Linked DNA regions of Homo sapiens: regions 1 and 3 are each linked to region 2. The links are contacts of gene promoters, found by promoter capture Hi-C in blood cells and fetal thymus (Javierre and others, 2016). All regions are on one chromosome and are shown on one strand. The core of a region is centred on a gene start or on the middle of the fragment in contact, and the rest is flanking DNA. Distances in the headings are between cores, read along the strand shown.

The links. Contacts are between HindIII fragments. The CHiCAGO score rates a contact against its expected background, and 5 or more counts as called.
Region 1: a contact is called between a fragment that was not itself captured here and the fragment with the promoter of DDX43 in region 2, in 2 of 17 cell types (activated CD4 T cells and naive CD8 T cells). The highest score is 6.9, in activated CD4 T cells.
Region 3: a contact is called between a fragment that was not itself captured here and the fragment with the promoter of DDX43 in region 2, in 7 of 17 cell types (naive CD8 T cells, non-activated CD4 T cells, total CD4 T cells and 4 more). The highest score is 7.4, in naive CD8 T cells.

What each region holds. Positions count from the first base shown.
Region 1 is chr6:73,601,638-73,604,986 of GRCh38, forward strand. The region is part of intron 9 of SLC17A5 (solute carrier family 17 member 5); the gene reads right to left. Among named protein-coding and RNA genes, the nearest start is that of SLC17A5, 51 kb to the right of the region's middle. The HindIII fragment of the contact is 1,241 bases long and covers 1,239-2,479 here.
Region 2 is chr6:73,393,238-73,396,796 of GRCh38, forward strand. DDX43 (DEAD-box helicase 43) reads left to right here and starts at 1,591. Exons shown (of 17, transcript NM_018665.3): 1 at 1,591-1,918. The coding sequence starts at 1,669. It overlaps LOC124901538 (small nucleolar RNA U13), which reads right to left and starts at 776; the gene lies at 676-776. It also overlaps a transcript of OOEP not described here. RefSeq lists an enhancer at 1,208-1,708. The HindIII fragment of the contact is 12,904 bases long and covers 1-3,559 here.
Region 3 is chr6:73,626,750-73,630,105 of GRCh38, forward strand. The region is part of intron 6 of SLC17A5 (solute carrier family 17 member 5); the gene reads right to left. Among named protein-coding and RNA genes, the nearest start is that of SLC17A5, 26 kb to the right of the region's middle. The HindIII fragment of the contact is 6,706 bases long and covers 1-3,356 here.

The DNA of each region.
Region 1 (3,349 bases), core at 609-3,108, 210 kb after region 2:
GGGGGGGGTCAGCCCCCCGCCCAGCCAGATGCCCCGTCCAGGAGGGAGGTGGGGTGGTCAGCCCCCCGCCCGGCCAGCCGCCCCGTCCGGGAGGTGAGGGGCGCCTCTGCCCAGCCGCCCCTACTGAGAAGTGAGGAGCCCCTCTGCCCGGCCAGCCGCTCCGTCCGGGAGGGAGGTGGGGGGGTCAGCCCCCTGCCCGGCCAGCCGCCCCGTCCGGGAGGTGAGGGGCGCCTCTGCCCGGCCGCCCCTACTGGGAAGTGAGGAGCCCCTCTGCCCGGCCACCACCCCGTCTGGGAGGTGTACCCAACAGCTCATTGAGAACGGGCTGGGATGACAATGGCGGTTTTGTGGAATAGAAAGGGGGGAAAGGTGGGGAAAAGATTGAGAAATCGGATGGTTGCCGTGTCTGTGTAGAAAGAAGTAGACATGGGAGACTTTTCATTTTGTTCTGTACTAAGATACATTCTTCTGCCTTGGGATCCTGTTGATCGGTGACCTTACCCCCAACCCTGTGCTCTCTGAAACATGTGCTGTGTCCACTCAGGGTTAAATGGATTAAGGGCGGTGCAAGATGTGCTTTGTTAAACAGATGCTTGAAGGCAGCATGCTCGTTAAGAATCATCACCACTCCCTAATCTCAAGTACCCAGGGACACAAACACTGCGGAACGCCGCAGGGTCCTCTGCCTAGGAAAACCAGAGACCTTTGTTCACTTGTTTATCTGCCGACCTTCCCTCCACTATTGTCCTATGACCCTGCCAAATCCCCCTCTGTGAGAAACACCCAAGAATGATCAATAAAAAAAATAAAAATTAACAACAACAACAACAACAAAAAACATTAACATTAGAGGAAGGCTGGGCGCGGTGGCTCACGCTTGTAATCCCAGCACTTTGGGAGGCCGAGGCGGGTGGATCACGAGGTCAGGAGATCGAGACCATGCTGGCTAACATGGTGAAACCCCGTCTCTACCAAAAATACAAAAAAATTAGCCGGCCGTGATGGCAGGCGCCTCTAGTCCCAGCTACTCGGGAGGCTGAGGCAGGAGAATGGCGTGAACCTGGGAGGCGGAGCTTGCAGTGAGCAGAGATCGCGCCACTGCACTCCAGCCTGGCCGACAGAGCGAGACTCCGTCTCAAAAAAAAAAAAAAAAAAATTACATACAGGAACACAGCCATGGAAATAACCCCTTTTTATAGTGATATAGGAAAGTTCTGAGATATCATTTTCATACAGAAAGCTTAGCATGTCTAGCTTAAAGTTTTTTAAGTTAAAAAAAATTTCTTTCCTGATTTGAAAATTCAATTGTAATTAATTTTTGAAAATTAATACGAAAAAAGAAAAAAATAATGAAGTAAAATTACCTATAATTCTTCCCCATAGAGATGATCAACATTAACATTTTCATAAATATCCTATTTTTTTCTGTCTGTATATATTTCTAGTATGTTATTATAGACGTGAGATCATATCAAACATAAAATTTGCTTGTTCCATTAATTACATTTTTTTTTTTGAGACGGAGTCTCTGTCGCTCAGGCTGGAGTACAGTGGCGCGATCTCAGCTCATTGCAACCTCCGCCTCCTAGGTTCAAGTGATTCTTCTGCTTCAGCCTCCCAAGTAGCTGGGACTATACACGCATGCCATGTAGGTCAGGCTGGTCTTGAACTCCTGATCTCAGGTGATCCACCTGCCTCAGCCTCCCAAATTGCCAAATTGCTGGGATTACAGGCGTGAGCCACTGCACCTGGCCCGATAATTCATTTTTAAAATTGCTGCCTCTTTTTTTTTTTTTTTTTGAGACAGAGTTTCACTCTTGTTGCCCAGACTGGAGTGCAATGGTGTGATCTTGGCTCATTACAACTTCCACCTCCCCAGTTCAAGTGATTCTCCTTCCTCAGCCTCCTGAGTAGCTGGGATTACAGGCATGCACCACCATACCTGGGTAATTTTGTATTTTTAGTAGAAACGGGGTTTCACCACGTTGGTTAGGCTGGTCTCAAACTCCTGACCTCAGGTGATCCACCTGCCCCAGCCTCCCATAGTGCTGGGATTACAGGAGCGAGCCACTGCGCCTGGCCTAAAATTGCTGTCCCTTTACTAGGATGTTTGTCCTGTATATATTCATGAATTCTGGACTTTGAAGATTGTATCTCTTAGGTATCATTTCACATAATCTTATACCTCCTGTATTTCCTGTACACTGATAGTTTCTAGACTCTAGATCCTAGGGGGTTCATTAGATTTAGGTTTAATGTTTTTGGTAAAAAACAAAAACAAAAACAAAAAACAAAAAAAAAACACTTAAAGGAGAAGGAGGAGTTCAGTTAAAAAAAGTGCTGCTTAACTAATTCAGTTATGTATAAAGATCACAAAGTTTTATGTTCAAAACTTGTGCATACACACAGCACTATAACAAAACCATGAAGTACAGATCTTTTTGGCTCATCCCCTTTAGGGGTGTATCTAAATTAACCAAGCTTGGCAGAGCCTCTCTTTTTTTTTTTTCTTTTTAAACCATTAACACCTTGGCAGTAAGAGGAGTCAACTGCAATGTTGCCAGCCTTTCCAGTGACAGATATTAAGTGCAGACGAATGCCATGAAATTCTAAATGTCAGCAACAAGAAGCTCATTCAAGTACTTATATTTCACTTGGCCAGGACAGGCCATGAAAGATTGATGACCACTTGGAAGAAAACAAGTTGTATGGACTCAGTCTGGATTCTGTGCTGTTGGAGTACTATTGGAATTAATAGCTGAAAATCTATCTAATTCCCATGAATTCGGGCAACAAAATTACCATAGAAAAATCTCTATTTTGGGGCCGGGTGTGGTGGTGCATGCCTGTAATCCCAGCATTTTGGGAGGCTGAGGTGGGAGAATTGCTTGAGCCCAGGAGTTTGAGACTAGCCTGGGCAACATGGTGAAACCCTCTCTCTACAAAAACTAAAAAAACACACAAAATTAGCTGGGTGTGTTGGCTCAGGCTGTAGACCCGCTCGCTACTCAGGAGGCTGAGGTGGAGGATTGCAGGAGGATTGCTTGCGACTGCAGTGAGCCGTGGTCTTGCTGCTGTACTCCAGCCTGGGTGACAGGGTGTGACTCTGCCTCAAAAGATAATAAATACATTGATAACATAAAATCTCTATTTCAGTCTATAGAAGTAAAGGCCTATAAAATCCAAGTACACATTTATATGTTAATAGGAATATTATTTATTGGAAAACCTTGTATCTGTTTACTGACTATGTATTGGAAAACCTGATATCAGACATGTTTATAAGGGTTTTATATATCATATTATATCATTTTAATTATAAAATCAACCCCATGAGGAAGGATTATCT
Region 2 (3,559 bases), core at 341-2,840:
CTCCTGAGTAGCTGGGACTACAGCCTGTACCACCACACCCGGCAGGGTCTCACTATGTTACCCAGACTGATGTTGAACCTTGGGGCTCAAGAGATCCTCCGCCTAGGCCTCCTAAAGTGTTGAGATTACAGGTATGAGTTATCCCTGCTGGCCTAAACTGAAATTTGTTCAGATAATTCAAAGATCCTAATCAAAGGAGTGCACTTGCAGCTGGCTTGAAGCCCTGGAGTAGTAGTATGTCCAGCCACAGAGCCAGGCTGCAGTGACGGTAATGCTTCAGGAATCTATTCAATTTATTTCCTTAGCTCTAAAATTATGGCAGGCCAGGCACTGTGGCTCATACCTGTAATCCCTCAACTGTGTGAGGCCAAGGCAGGAGGAGTTGGATACCAGCCCGGGCAACATAGGGAGGTCTTGTCTTTACAAAATAATTAGCCTGGCATGGTGGTGCACACCTGTAGTCCCAACTATTCGGGAGGCTGTGGTGGGAGTATCACTTGAGTCCAACAGGTCGAATCTGCAGTGAGTGATCGCACCACTGCACTCCAGCCTAGGCGACAGAGGTCAAAAACAAAACAAAAGAAAACAAACAAAAAAAACATAGCAAACATCCAGAAGACTGTGTAGAGCAATGAATGTCTCTCAAGCCAGTGATCTTTTTCTCTTCATTTTTCACATCAGGTGGGTAGTGTGCCCACTTCGTAACAAGGTTTGAGGGAGGCACATTTGACACAAGAGCATGAAAACCCAATCACACTTATGACTTACAAAAGGATCAAGTCAGTGATCTTTAAGCTGTGGGCCATTAAATACATTTTGTGAGCCGAGTGCAGTGGCTCAGGCCTGTAACCCCAGCACTATGGGAGGTGGAGGTGGGAGGATCACTTGAGTCCAGGAGTTCAAGACCAGCCTTGGGCAACATACTGGGAACTCCCATCTCTATTAAATTTTTTTTTTTTAATTTTGTGGATTACAACCATTTCAAAAACTAAAATAAGCGTAAATGTATCAAAATGCAGCTTACATAGCGAGGATAAATGCTGTTTTGTCAATCTGTTGTTTCAAGTTTTTTATGTGTGGATTGGGTCACCTTGTAACAGTGACTTACCTTTATGGGTCACGGTTGAAAACATTTCCGGTGCAGTGGCTGACTGTAATCCCAGCACTTTGGGAGGCCGAGGCTGGAAGATCACTTGAAGCCAGAAGCCAAGAGTTCAAGACCTGCCTGGGCAACACGGCGACACCCCGTCTCTATTTAAAAAGAAAAAAAAAAGTTTCCAAGGCACTGAGATGCCAGGAACCCGAGGTGTGTGTCCAGTAGGGGAGGGAGCAAATTGGGCGTTTGGAAAAAGTCCCACGCCTGGAAAGGAATACACAGTGGGGGGGTGGGGGGCGGGGCACATCGACTACTTCAAGGCACACTCCCACGGTTCAGAAAACCGATTGGCTAAAACTGGGAAAGTCCCGCCCACAACGCTCACTGGCCAATGGCTGCGTGAAATCAGTGCGAAGTGGGCGGGATAGAGAGCGTGGGCGGGGGGGCTAGCCTCGTGCGGGCTCCTTAAGTAGCGGCTGCGTGGCTTCCCTGGCACGCTACTCTTACGACGTCACGGTCAGGTGGTGCAGAGCTGGACGGCAACGACGTCGGACGCGCCCCTTCTTGGAACAATGTCCCACCACGGAGGAGCTCCCAAGGCCTCTACGTGGGTCGTTGCTAGTCGGCGAAGCTCGACAGTGTCCCGAGCGCCAGAGAGGAGGCCGGCGGAGGAGTTGAATCGAACAGGTCCTGAGGGATATAGTGTCGGCAGAGGTGGTCGCTGGAGAGGCACCTCTAGGCCCCCGGAGGCCGTGGCCGCTGGTCACGAGGAACTGCCGCTGTGTTTTGCTTTGAAGAGCCACTTTGTTGGCGCGGTAATCGGTGAGAATGGGAGTGGCTGGCAGGGCAGGATAGGTGGGGCCAGGGGCGGAGCCTGGGCGAAGGCATTTCCTCCCCACTGCCTCACCTCCAATCAGCTGCCACCTAGTGAGGTTCAGGTCTCTCCCAGAGCTATTTGTAAAACCTGGGGATAGAGTATAATTTAATCTGGCCGGGCGCGTTGGCTCACGCCTGTAATCCCAGTATTTTGGGAGGCCGAGGCGGGCGGATCACCCCAGGTCAGGAATTCGAGACCAGCTTGGCCAACATGGCAAAACCCTGTCTCTACTAAAAATATATATATTAAAAAAAATAGCTGGGCGTGGTGGCGCGCGCCTGTAATCCCAGATACTCCGGAGGCTGAGGCAGGAGAATGGCTTGAACCCGGCGGCAGAAGTTGGCAGTGAGCTGAGATCGCGCCACTGCACTCCAGCCTAGGTGACAGAGCAAGACTCCGTCTCAATTAAAAAAAAAAAAAAAAAGTAATTTAATCCACCTTTTGGTGTTTATACAGACAATGTATTTGGGAGAGCAACTCCTAGAAGACTTATGAAATCTTAGGGCTGAAGAGGGATGCTTAGAACAGGCCTTTTAACAGACAGCTAACCCCAGAATGAAAAACAAAACTTAATCAGTCTTTCTATGAGTACCATTTAGAGCCAGAAATCAAAGAAAAGCTATAAGGTCATTGTAGGGCTGCCTAGAGCAGTTGTATCTTGCTTTTAGTTTCCTTAATTTTTAAAAAGTTAAAAACTTTTCTTACTACATCTTGAGTGTTAACATTCAATTCTGAATTTTTAATTTTTTTCTTTCTTTTGATTTTTTTTTTTTTTGAGGCAGCTCTGTGGCCCCAGCTGGAGTGCAGTGTGGCGTGATCTCGGCTCACTACAACTTCCACCTCCCGGGCTCAAGCGATTCTAGCACCTCAGCCTCCCTAGTAGCTGAAATTACGTGCGCCACCACACCTGGCTAATTTTTGTGTTTTTAGTAAAGATGAGGTTTCACCATATTACCCAGGATGGTCTCGAACTCCTGTGGATCCACCCACCTCGGCCTCCCAAAGTGCTGAGATTACAGGCGTAAGCCCGGCCCATTTCTGAATTTTTTTGAAAAGCATTTAAAAATGATTAGAATGATTACCCCATTGATTGCCATTAAGCCCGAGTATAAATTGCCACATTTTACCTATTAGGTGTATTTCACCCTTTTTAAAACCTGAGAAAAATGAATAGATGGAGGCTGCTACAAAATAGTGCATTGTAAGACTAATTGCTGTACTACCCAGAGACTCATTGGCCTTTCAGAAGGCTTGGGCTCAGATCTGAAGAATGATGCTCCAAGAAAGAAAGCCACTAGGTTTGCAATAAAAATCACTTAAGTTAATACTTAGCAGATGAAAGGGCACTGTGCTACAGAGCACTCACTTGATGTTGGATCTGGATCCATCTTTTTTATTGTAAAAAATGAAATACCCTCTTTTAAACGTATATCACAATACTAATAATAAGCACAATGTTGTATCCCAGATCTCTGGAACTTGCATGACTAAAACTGTATACTCATTGAACAGCTCCCCATTTTTTCCTGCCCCATCCCAGGGACCCACCATTTACATTGTTTCTGAGTTAGATTACTTTAGGTAAT
Region 3 (3,356 bases), core at 302-2,801, 230 kb after region 2:
GTGACATATGTGTGACTGAATAACTAAATTTTTTTATTTTTAGATGGAGTCTTGCTCTGTTGCCCAGGCTGGAGTTCAGTGGAGCGATCTCGGCTCACTACAACCTCCGCCTCCTGGGTTCAAGTGATTCTCCCACCTCAGCCTCCCGAGTAGCTGGGATTATAAGCACTCACTGTCATGCCTGGCTAATTTTTGTATTTTGGTAGAGATGGGGGTTTCACTAAGTTGACCAGGCTGGTCTTGAACTCGTGACCTCAGGTGATCCACTCACTTTGGCCTCCCAAAGTGCTGGGATTACAGGCGTGAGCCACCACGCCTGGCCAGAACTAATTTTTTTTTTTTTCTTGAGACGGAGTCTCGCTCTGTCGCCAGGCTGGAGTGCAGTGTCGTGATCTCGGCTCACTGCAACCTCCACCTCCCAGGTTCAAGTGATTCTCTTGCCTCAGCTTCCTGAGTAGCTGGGACTACAGGCGCGTGCCACTATGCCTGGCTAATTTTTGTATTTTTAGTAGAGATGGGATTTCACCATGTTGGCCAGGATGGTCTCTATCTGTTGACCTCGTGATCTGCGTGCCTCAGCCTCCCAAAGTACTGGGATTACAGGTGTGAGCGACCGTGCCTGGCCAAAACTAAATTTTTAATTAAATTAGTTAAATTAAAAATATAACAGCCACGTGGAGCTAGTGGCTACCATACTGGACAACACAAGGTTGGGCTTAAGAAGGTACAAAACAGCTTTTTTTGATGTTCTGGATCTAGAAATTATTCTCTTGCTATTGTTTCTAACACACTACTATCTTGCCAATCAAGCAATGTAAACACATACTCTCGATGGCTTCATCATATCTAATTGTTGGCAAAAAATTAAAAATTATGAAAGCATTTTTTTTTTTTTTTGAGAAGGAATCTCACTCTGTTGCCCAGGCTGGAGTGCAGTGGCACGATCTCAACTCACTGCAGCCTCTGCCTCCCAGGTTCGAGCAATTCTCCTGACTCAGCCTCCTGAGAAGCTGGGATTATAGGCACCTGCTACCACACCCGGCTAATTTTTGTATTTTTAGTAGAGACAGGGTTTCACCACGTTGGCCAGGCTTGTCTAGAACTCCTAACCTCAGGCGATCCACCTGCCTCAAAAGTGCTGGGATTACAGGCGTGAGCCACTGTGCCTGCCACTTTTTTTTTTTTTTTTGAGACAGGGTTTCGCTCTGTCGCACAGGCTGGAGTGCAGAGGCGCGATCACGGCTACTGCAACCTCAACCTCCTGGGCTCTAGTGATCCTCTCACCTCAGCCTCCTGAGTAGCTGAGACTACAGGCATGTGCCACCACACCGGGTAATTTTTAAATTTTTTGTAGAAATGGGGTCTCCCTATGTTGCCCAGGCAGGTCTCTAACCCCTGGGTTCAAGTGATCCTTCCACCTAGGCCTCCCAAAGTGATCGGATTACAGGCATAAGTCACTGCACCTGGTCCTGAAAGTTCCTATTAGAGGGCTACATTATTCTAAAATACCACTGCTGATAAAAGAAAATACATATGCGTGGCTGGGCGTGGTGGCTCACACCTGTAATCCCAGCACTTTGGAGGCCAAGGCAGGCGGATCACTTGAGGCCAGGAGTTCGAGACCAACTTGGCCAACACAGTGAAACCCTGGCTCTACTAAAAATATAAACAATTAGCCGGGAATGGTGATGCGTGCATGTAATCCCAGCTACTCGGGAGGCTGAGGCATGAGAATCGCTTGAACCCGGGAAGCAGAGGTTGCAATGAGCTGAGATAGTGCCACTGCTCTCCAGCTTGGGGAACAGAGGGAGACTCTGTCCTCCCCACCCCCACCCCCCAAAAAGGAAAATACATACAGGCAAAAAAATTTAAAATTGCTCAGATCATTTGCTCAGCCAACATTTTGAAAGCAAATATACTTTGGAGATTTAAATGATAATGGAATTTGTGAAGGAAAAATCAATGAGATCCTGAATCTTGTATTCAGAATGTATCATCGAATTTCTAATAATAGCTCAATCAACTTTTTTTCCATATAAGTTGAAACAGAAAAGGACAAACTATAAAAATTATTTGTCATGAAATGTGTGAAATATAGAGGGTAAGATCACTCGACAAATACTTGAATATATTCTAATATGCCATTTAAAAAAAATTTTTCTTGTCAAATGCAAGTAACAGCAAATTGATTTAGCAAAGTTACATGTAAAAAATGCTCTTAATTTCTGTCTTAATTTGACAACTAAATATTCAAACCAAGGTCCCCATTTGATTTGCTTCGCAATGCTGCAAAATTGTATACTCTTCCTAAAAGGCATAAAGGAGAAGTAAAACAGTTACAAAACATGCTATCTTCAGGCTGGGCATGGTGGCTCATGCCTGTAATCCCAGCACTTTGGAGGCTGAGGCAGGCAGATCACTTGAGTTCACAAGTTCAAGACCAGCCTGGGCAACATGGCAAAACCCTGTCTCTACAAAAAATACAAAAATTAGCCAGGCTTTGTGGTACACACCTGTCGTCCCAACTACTTGGTAGGCTGAGGTGGGAGGATGGCTTGAACCCGGGAGGCAGAGGGAGGCTGCAGTGAGCCAAGATCATGCTACTGCACTCCAGCCTAGGCAACAGAACCAGACTTTGTGTCAAAAAACAAAACAACACACAAACAAAAACAAAAAACAAACCCAGAACCAACCAAACAAGAAAACCCCATGATATCCTTGGAATTAAGAAAAGAAGAAGAAGCCGGGTGTGGTGGCTCACGCTTGTAATCCCAGCACTTTGGGAGGCCGAAGCTGGTAGATCACCTGAGGTTGGGAGTTTGAGACCAGCCTGACCAACATGCAGAAACCCTGTCTCCACTAAAAATACAAAAAAATTAGCTGGGCGTGGTGGTGCATGCCTGTAATCCCAGCTACTTGGGAGGCTGAGGCAGGAGAATCACTAGAACCCAGGAGGCGGAGGTTGCAGTGAGCCAGGATCGCACCATTGCACTCCAGCCTGGGCAACAAGAGAACAAGAGCGAAACTCCGTCTCAAAAAAACAAGAAGAAAGAAAAGAAGAAGAACAAAAATAGCAGATATATAGGAAAGAACACTTCAATGGGTGAAGTGGTAATGTCTTTCCATAATTCATTAAAAGGAGATCTTCAACATAGAGGAGTAGCTGATGATCTTAAAGCACTCGCTAGTCATGAGATGGTCCTTCTGAATTTAACTGCAGCGTGCAATGAAGATTTTTATTTCTCTATTTTTTTTTTTTTTGAGATAGAGTCTTGCTCTGTCGCCCAGGCTGGAGTGCAGTGGTATGATCTTGGCTCACTGTAACCTCCGCCTCCCAGGTTCAAGTGATTCTTCTG